Regions from separate parts of the Homo sapiens genome. Here region 1 is linked to region 2. Evidence: promoter capture Hi-C in 16 types of primary human blood cells and fetal thymus (Javierre and others, 2016). All regions are on one chromosome and are shown on one strand. The core of a region is centred on a gene start or on the middle of the fragment in contact, and the rest is flanking DNA. Distances in the headings are between cores, read along the strand shown.

Region 1 (4,450 bases), core at 1,506-4,005, 530 kb after region 2:
TTTCTCTTTTAAAGTTCTGTATAGGGTTAGGGTGTTGGAAAATGCTATATTAATAAATCTGTAGTGTTTTGTGTTTATAGGTTCAGAACCAGAGTAACTGGATTGAAAGATGGACTGATAGATTAGATATATCAGTCTAATTTATCATGACTGATAGATCTGGTTAAGTTGTGTACTAAAGGATTAGGAGAGCCCTTCCTGTCACAAAAGTGCCACTAAAACAGCCTAAGGAGAAAAATGGCTTGCTTTTCTAAACTTCAGATGTATCTGGGCTCTAATCATATAGACAGGCTTCTGATAGATTGCAACTGTAAGTAGAAACCTACATATAGTTAAAATCCTGGTCTTTCTTGGTAAACAGATTTAAAATGTCTGATGTAAAACATGCCACAGGAGAATTCAGGGATTTGAGTTTCCCTGAATAGCATATATATGATGCATCAAATGGGTTATTACTATTTTTTACCATTTCCACTTACATAATGAAAAACAATTCATTTTAAATATCACATTATTATTTTGTAAGTCATGGAAAAGGGCAATTGAAGTTTTCATTATGAAGTTTTCCCAATAAACCAGGAATTCTAAACTTGAAAAAAAAAAATAGAATTAGCCAGGTATGGTTGCACAGGCCTGTAATCCCAGCTACCCGGGAGGCTGAGGCAGGAGAATCACCTGAACCTGAGAGGCAGAGGCTTCAGTGAGCCGAGGCCACACCACTGCACTCCGGCCTTGGTGACAGAGACTCTGCCTCGAAAGATAAAAATAATAATGAAAGTAATATTGGGATTATACTGTACATTCTTTCTTACATGTATGGTGAATATATTTTGACAATAAATATCTTTACATCAGTTAAAATAACCACCTCATATTTTGTTTTATGGAATATAATATTATTTTGTTGTATGAAGTCAAATATTAGATTGAACCATATATCTGACCATTTTTTACCTATAAAAATAGCAGTTACCTGTAGTCCCAGCTACTTAGGAGGCTGAGGCAGGAGAATCCCTTGAGCACAGGAGTTCAAGGCTACAGTGAGCTATATAATTATTCTTTTGTTGTGGGACATTTTGGTCATTTCTAAATTTTCACCACTGTTGTGATAAACCTCTTTTAGCGAATCTTTTTTGTCTTTTTTATTGACATATAACTTTATCATTTCCTTAGAATTCCCAGAATTAGAATTGGTGAGTCAAAGAATAGATACTCTTTTTTTTTTTTTTTTTTTTGAGACAGAGTCTCGCTCTGTCACCCAGGCTGGAGGGCAGTGGCATGATCTTGGCTCACTGCAACCTCCGCCTCCTGGGTTCAAGTGATTATCCTGCCTCAGCCTCCCAAGTAGCTGAGATTAAAGGCACCTGCCACCACGCCCAGCTAATTTTTTGTATTTTTAGTAGAGATGGGGCTTCACCATGTTGGCCAGGCTGGTCTTGGACTCCTCACCTCAAGTGATCTGCCCACCTTGGCCTCCCAAAGTGCCGGGATGACAGGCGTGAGCCACTGTACCCTGCCAGGAGGTGACATTTGAACAGAGCCTTGAAGATGCTGTGTAGAAAGTCTGACAGGTGGCCAGGTGTAGTGGCTCACGCCTGTCATCCCAGCACTTTGGGAGGCCAAGGTGAGAGGATCACTTGAGGCTAGAAGTTTGAGGCCAGCCTGGGCAGCATAGTGAGACCCCGTCTCCTAAAAAAAAAAAAAAATTAGGCCGGGCGCGGTGCCTCACGCCTGTAATCCCAGCATTTTGGGAGGCTGAGGCGGGCAGATCACGAGGTCAGATCGAGACCATCCTGGCTAACATGGTGAAACCCTGTCTGTACTAAAAATACAAAAAATTAGCCGGGCATGGTGGTGGGCGCCTGTGGTCCCAGTTACTCGGGAGGCTAAGGCAGGGGAATGGCGTGAACCCAGGAGGCGGAGCTTGCAGTGAGCGGAGATCGCGCCACTGCACTCCAGCCTAGGTGACAGAGCGAGACTCCGTCTTAAAAAAAAAAAAAAAAAAAAAAATTAGCCCAGCATGGTGGCCCTTGCCTGTGGCCCCAGCTGCTCGGGAGGCTGAGGTGGGAGGATCACTTGAGGCCAGGGGTTTGAGGCTGCAATGAGCCACGACTGTGCCACTGCACTCCAGCCGGAGTGACAGAGCAAGACCCTGCCTCAAAAGAAAAAAAAAGTTTGATAGGGCATGTGGAACAAGAGACAGGACCTGAGGGAAGAGCATGAATGAAGGTATTGAAGAGTAGAGGGACACTGTGTGTTGGGAACTGAGTGGTGTGGACTGCACAGTGGTGGGAGGAAGGGAAGAGGAGAGTTTCCAAAAAATAGTTGGGACCAGACTGGGAAAGGCCTTGAATGCCTTCCCAAGGAGTTAGGAATTTATTCCACACCTGGTGCCCATGAAGGAAGCAGATTGCTTCAAGGTTAAGCTCAGGCTTTGGAGACAGACTCTCCAGGTTTGGATTCAGGCCCTGTCACTTATTTGCCATGGGGCTGAGTTCACCCAGCCTCAGTTTCTTCATCTGTAAAATAGGAGTGATAATCACAGGATTGTTGTGGGGTTTCAATGAGAGAATGCGTGTAAAATGTTTCGTACAATTACTGCCACTTATTTCTCAATAATTGCTGGCTTTGGTCATTAATAAAAGAGGGAAACAACATTATCAGATCTGTATTTAGAAGGAGTCTGGCAGATAGGGACAGATTTGGGCCAAAATCTCAAGCCAGTATTTTTCAAGGGTACACTAAACCTTGGTACATATCTAATTATAATACATTTTTTAAAAGGGTTAAATGAGTACAATTGAAACGGCAGAGTTCTTTTTTTTTGTTTGTTTGTTTTGAGACAGAGTCTAACTCTGTTGCCTAGGCTGGAGTACAACGGCACGGTCCTGGCTCACTGAAACCTCCGCCTCCCAAGTTCAAGCAATTATTCTGCCTCAACCTCCCAAGTAGCTAGGACTACAGGCACGTGCCACCACACCTGGCTAATCTTTGTATTTTTAGTAGAGATGGGGTTTCACCATGTTGGCCAGGCTGGTTTCGAACTCCTGACCTCGTGATCCACCCACCTTGGCCTCCCAAAGTGCTGGGATTACAGGCATGAGCCACCATGCCCAGCCAGTTGTTTTTTTAGGAAAGTCATTGTAGTACACATGGCTAGCCACACATGGCAGGCGTGCTGGCACCCAGAGAAAGAGAAAGCCAAAGCTGTCCATCTTGCAGACCGACAGGAGGGAGCCAGGACACAGCTGGGCTTGCTCGTGCCCAGAGAGAAAGAGTTAAGCTGCTTAACCTGAAGGCAAGGGAGAGTCGGCTGCACAGCTGTGTTGGGGGGCAGCTGGCTCAAGCAGCTGAGACAGGGCTAATAGTGTTAAGAGTAAGCTGCTAATAAGAGAGCTAGTGTAAGAAAGCTGTTAATGAGAGCTGCTGCTGAATAAAACTATCTTTCACCTGCCTACAGCCCCCCCACCCGGAATATTCTTTCTGCTTACCCACCCACTCCCCTCAGACTTCAGCATGGGCAGGACCTGGACCCTGGGATCTGACACACATCTCTACTAAAAATACAAAAATTAGCCAGTATGGTGGCACATGCCTGTAATTCCAGCTACCAGGGTGGCTGAGGCATGATGATCACCTGAACCCAGGAGTCAGAGGTTGCAGTGAGCTAAGACTGTGTCACTGCACTCTAGCCTGGGCAACAGAGCCTGACCCTGTGTCAAGACAAAAAAAACTTAAAGACCATTTGTCCAGTATAAACTCTTTCAAAATATATACTCAAGCATAGAAAAAAAGTCTAGAAATGTCATCAATGGTAATTTCAGGAAAGAATTTTAAGGTGACGTTTTTTGGTTATCTGCATTTTTTTTTCTTTTATTTTTTTGAGATAGGGTCTTGCTGTGTCACCCAGGCTGGAGTGCAGTGATGCGATCAGGGCTCACTGCAGCCTTGACCTCCCAGGCTTAAGCCATCCTCCCACCTCAGTCTCCTGAGTAGCTGGGACTACAGGCGCAAGCCACCACACCTGGCTAATTTTTGCATTCTTGTATTTTTTGCAAAGATGGGGTTTTGCCATGTTGCCCAAGCTGGTCTCAAGCGATCCGCCCACCTTGGCCTCCCAGAGTGCTGGGATTACAAGTGTGACCTATGTGTGCCAGGCCTACGTTTTCTTTTCTGTAATGACCATGACCATGGATTTCATGTACCAACATTTTTCTAGCAATAATATTTACAAAGCATACTATGAAAAATGTTCAGAGAAAAAGAAGAATACACAACTGTAAAAATCATATATAACTAGTTTTCTTTTTGTTTGTTTTTAAAGCCAAAAAAGAAACAAAGTATAGATTGTCCAGGAAGATAGTTACTTCCACTTTGTGTTTCTCTGGTGAACTCATTAGGAACTCTAAAAAGTTCCAGGAGGGCTGGGCATGGTGGCTCATGCCTGTAA
Region 2 (4,093 bases), core at 238-2,737:
TGTGGGGGTCGGGGGGCTAAAGATTGCAAGAACCCCTCCCACCTCTCCCATGCTCTTCTTTGGAGGGAGAGAGGGAGCTCTGTGTCCACGGGTAGGAAGAAGAAATTGCCAACTGACACCAGTACAGTTTATTCACAAATAAATAAATTCACATTAGGCAGAGCCTCCTGCTTGCCTCAAAGTGTCTAGCCCTATGGGTCCCTCCATGGAGGGAGGGGCTGAGAAGGGCCGCCGCGGTGGGGACGGCTCTCACCCGCAGGAATGCCCCCGTCGGGATCGCCCGTGCCCTCTTCCAGGAAAGGCAGTCTGCCAAGGAACCACTTCGAAGGTGCTGAGGCCAAAAAGCCTCGGTGCTCACAGAGACGGCGTCAGTTGTCCCTTGTCACTTGGGCTCCTCAGGCAGCCACTCCAGAGGCGAGAGGGGCATCCAGGTCTCCAACAGAGCCAGCACGTCGCCCGGAAGGAGCTGTAGGGAGAGACGGAACAGCGCAGCCCTCAAGCACTGGTGGCCTTGTGCGGGTGTCCGCGCTCGTGGGCTCCACTCTCAGGGGGCCCCTAGCGAGGGGAGACCCAGTCCTCTGCGTGGCCTTTCCCTGCCTTCGCTTCTTGGAGCCCTGGGCATACTATGGTGGCCAGGTGGCCAGGCTGCCGGCGGGGAGCAGCAGGGTGCCTGGTCCTCACCTTGGCGGGCGGTGGGGCTGTGCGCGGGGGCACGGACGAAGGGGGCGCGGGGAAGGGGACACTAACCGGGGACGGTGGGCTTGGCTCCATCGCCTGCCCTTCAGGGCACGCCGCCTCGGCGAACAGCGCAGGCGGGTCGCGCGGCTCGGGTGCAGCTCGGGCTCCGGGGCAGGCAGGCGGGGATCCCCAGGACGCCCCGGCGCGGACGGCGGATACCAGGCCCAGCCCGCGCCCCTGCCCCTGCCCCTCAGCCTGCGTCCGTGTCTGCATCTGCGCGGGGCAGTCGTCGGGGCACAGCGGGCAGCCCCGAGGGGACCCCGCGTCACCGCGCTGCCGGCACCGGCGCTGGAGACTCTCCTCGCTGAGGCCTAGCACGGCCGACAGGTGGCCGATATAGCGGATAGCCAGGCGCAGCGTCTCGATCTTGGTCAGGCTCTGGCCCGCGGGCGCCACGGACGGCGGTAGAAAGCGGCGCAGCTCGTGCAGGGCGCGGGCCAGCGTGCGCATGCGCAGTTTCTCCCGCTCACTGGCGCTCTGCCTCTGCCCGCTGCCCAGGCGGCTGCTGCGCGCGCCGCGCCTACCTACGGAGGGGGCGCGGGGGTCCCGGAGGGTGCCTGGCCGCGCGGGGCTCGCCACGGGGCTGTCGGCTGGGGTGCTGCCCCATGAGTCTGGGGACGAGACGAGGGAGCGGCCGCAGTCCTTGTCGGAGGGCGGCGGCCGCCGAGTTGGGCCCCAGGCCGCAGAGAGCATCCAGGACTCGGAGAGCGGCGGGCACAGGGGCTGGGCCATGGCAGCGGCGGCGCGTCTGGGGGCCGGCGGCCGGCGGCCGCTTTATGCCGAGCCCGAGGTGTGAAGTGGCCCCTTCCAGGCCGCATCAGCACATCAAAGTGGGCTCGGGGCTTGGAGGGGGCGGAGCCTGACCCTTTGAATCCACGGCGGGGGGCCAAGGTGCCAGCCCCTTGACTGCGCCTGTTTCGCCCCACCTGGGCCCTCGCTTGGGCGCCCGACCCAGCCTCTCGGCCTTCCCGCCTGCGCCCAGTGTTGGGTGAAGCCCGGGGCGTTGGGCCAGCCCTGCAGGTTAAAGGAAGCGGGGTCAGAAAAACGAAATCTAGATCCTAGGTTTGGGGCCTGCCTTCACCTGTTGGGGACCTTATGCAAATTCTTAGTTCTTTTGCACCTTAGCTTCCAATTTGTATAATGAGAGCCTCAGGGCATGCGCCAATTGGACAGTGGAGTAGAGTAAGGACCAGGAGCAGGGACCCTCATTCCCTCTAAAGGTGGAGAAAACAGTAAACCACTTCTCCTTTGAGGCAGGATGGCCCTGGGTAGACCCTTCCCTGGTAAGAACATGTGGACAGTGCAAGGAAGCTTGCACCCCGGCAAATTCAATAAGCTGCCGAGTCTGGTCAGGATGCTGGACCTTCTGAGCAGAGGGAGGGGGTTAAGCCTGCTCCAACCCCAGGCCACCTCTAGCCTGGCAAGGTCTGGAGCTTGGCCTGTTGCCACAGCTGTCACCACTGGCCTTTACCTGATGTTCTGCCGCTATTGGACAGGTATAACAGGTTTTCCCAATGAAATGTGAGTGGAAATGACGCAGCAAAGGCATTTGACAAAATCCAACACCCTTCGTGATGAAAATTCTCAGCAAACTAAGAATAGAGAGGAATTTCATCAACCTGATGAAAGGCTCCTACAAAGAACCTACAGGTAGCCTCATACTGAGTAGTGAAAGACTGAAATCTTCCCCCCACCCCCCGATTGCAGGAACAAAGCGAGGGTGTCTCTCTTACCACTCCTATTCAACATTGTACCAGATGGAGGATCTAGGCTATGCAATTAGGAAACAAAAGACATACAGGTCAGAAAGGAAGAAATAAAACTCTTTTCGCAGGTTATGGCAGCTCTGGGCCCTGCTGCGCATGAGCCTGACCAATTTAAAGCGGAATCCTGGCTCCAGGAAACCCATGAGACGACCAAAAGGTCGGAGAAGAGGTAGAAAATGCGGCAGAGGCCATAAAAGAGAAAGGCAGAGAGGAAACTGGCTCTGCTGGGCTTTGGGGATGGCCAGACTCTATTTTACATCGGAATCCCAAAATACAGATTTAATGAAGGACTTAGCTTCAGACACCAGTATCAACCTTTAAGTATCAATAGACTGTAATATGTTACTGATTTGGGTCGTGTTGATCCTACTCAACCTATTGACTTAACCCAGCTTGTCAATGGAAGAGGTGTGACCATTCAGCCACTTAAAGAGGATTATGGTGTTCAGCTGGTCGAAAAGGCCGCAGACACCTTTCAGGTGAAAGTTAATATTGGGCCGGGCGCGGTGGCTCACACCTGTAATCCCAGCACTTTGGCAGGCCAAGGGGGGTGGATCATGAGGTCAGGAGATTGAGACCACCCTGGCCACCGTGGTGAAACCCCGTCTTATTAAAAATGCAAAAATTAGCCAGGCATGGTGGCACGTGCCTGTAGTCCCAGCTACTTGGGAGGCTGAGGTAGGAGAATCACTTGAACCCGGGAGGTGGAGGTTGCAGTGAGCTGAGATCATGCCACTGCACTCCAGTCTGATGACAGAGTGAGACCCCCTGTCCAAAAAAAAAAAAAAAAAAAAAAAAGTTAATATTGAAGTACAGTTGGCTTCAGAACTAGCTATTGCTGCAATTGAAAAAAATGGTGGTGGTGTCACTACAGCCTTACAGGATCCAAGAAGTCTGGAAATTCTATCCAAACCTGTTCCATTCTTTTTGGAGACAACCCATTCCAAAAAGAATGCTTCCTTCTGAAGCACTGGTACCATATTCCACCAATGCAAAGAATCGTGGGAACCTGGCAGATCCTGCCAAATTTCCTGAAGCACAACTTGAGCTTGCCAGGAAGGACAGTTCTAATTTACTGGATATCACGAAAGAAGAACTCTTCAAATGTTCAGTACTCAGAAGGATCCAAGGCAGATTTTCTTTGAGTTTGCTCCAGGATGGGTGCTGAATATAGTAGATAAGAAAATCCTAACATCTACAGATGAAAATCTCCTCAAGTACTAGAGCTCATGAATTCCCATCCAAGAAAGCAGAGTTGTTAAAGAATATTAGAAAAGGGCCAGGCACAATGGCTAACACCTGTAATCTCAGCACTTTGGGAGGCCGAAGAGGGTGGATCGTGAGATCAGGAGTTTGAGACCAGCCTGGCCAACATGGCGAAACCCCGTCTCTACTAAAAATACAAAAATTAGCCAGGCATGGTGGCAGACGCCGGCAATCCCAGCTACTCGGGAGGCTGAGGCAGGATAATCGCTTGAACCCGGGAGGCGGAAGTTATGGTAAGCCAAGATCGCTCCATTGCACTGCAGCCTGGATGAAATTTCACCTGGCCCCTCAGGAGTTTGAGTTTGCACCCTGGTCTTAATAGG

The links. The method cuts DNA at HindIII sites, captures the fragments that hold promoters and counts their contacts. A CHiCAGO score of 5 or more calls a contact.
Region 1: a contact is called between a fragment that was not itself captured here and the fragment with the promoter of MESP1 in region 2, in 1 of 17 cell types (M0 macrophages). The highest score is 5.4, in M0 macrophages.

What each region holds. Positions count from the first base shown.
Region 1 is chr15:90,277,017-90,281,466 of GRCh38, forward strand. It overlaps the pseudogene PERPP2. Among named protein-coding and RNA genes, the nearest start is that of NGRN, 14 kb to the left of the region's middle. The HindIII fragment of the contact is 5,724 bases long and covers 1-4,450 here.
Region 2 is chr15:89,749,762-89,753,854 of GRCh38, forward strand. MESP1 (mesoderm posterior bHLH transcription factor 1) reads right to left here and starts at 1,488. Exons shown (of 2, transcript NM_018670.4): 1 at 748-1,488; 2 at 114-466. The coding sequence starts at 1,470. The coding sequence ends at 383. It also overlaps the pseudogene MRPL15P1. RefSeq lists silencers at 759-1,048, 1,109-1,538. The HindIII fragment of the contact is 7,264 bases long and covers 1-2,047 here.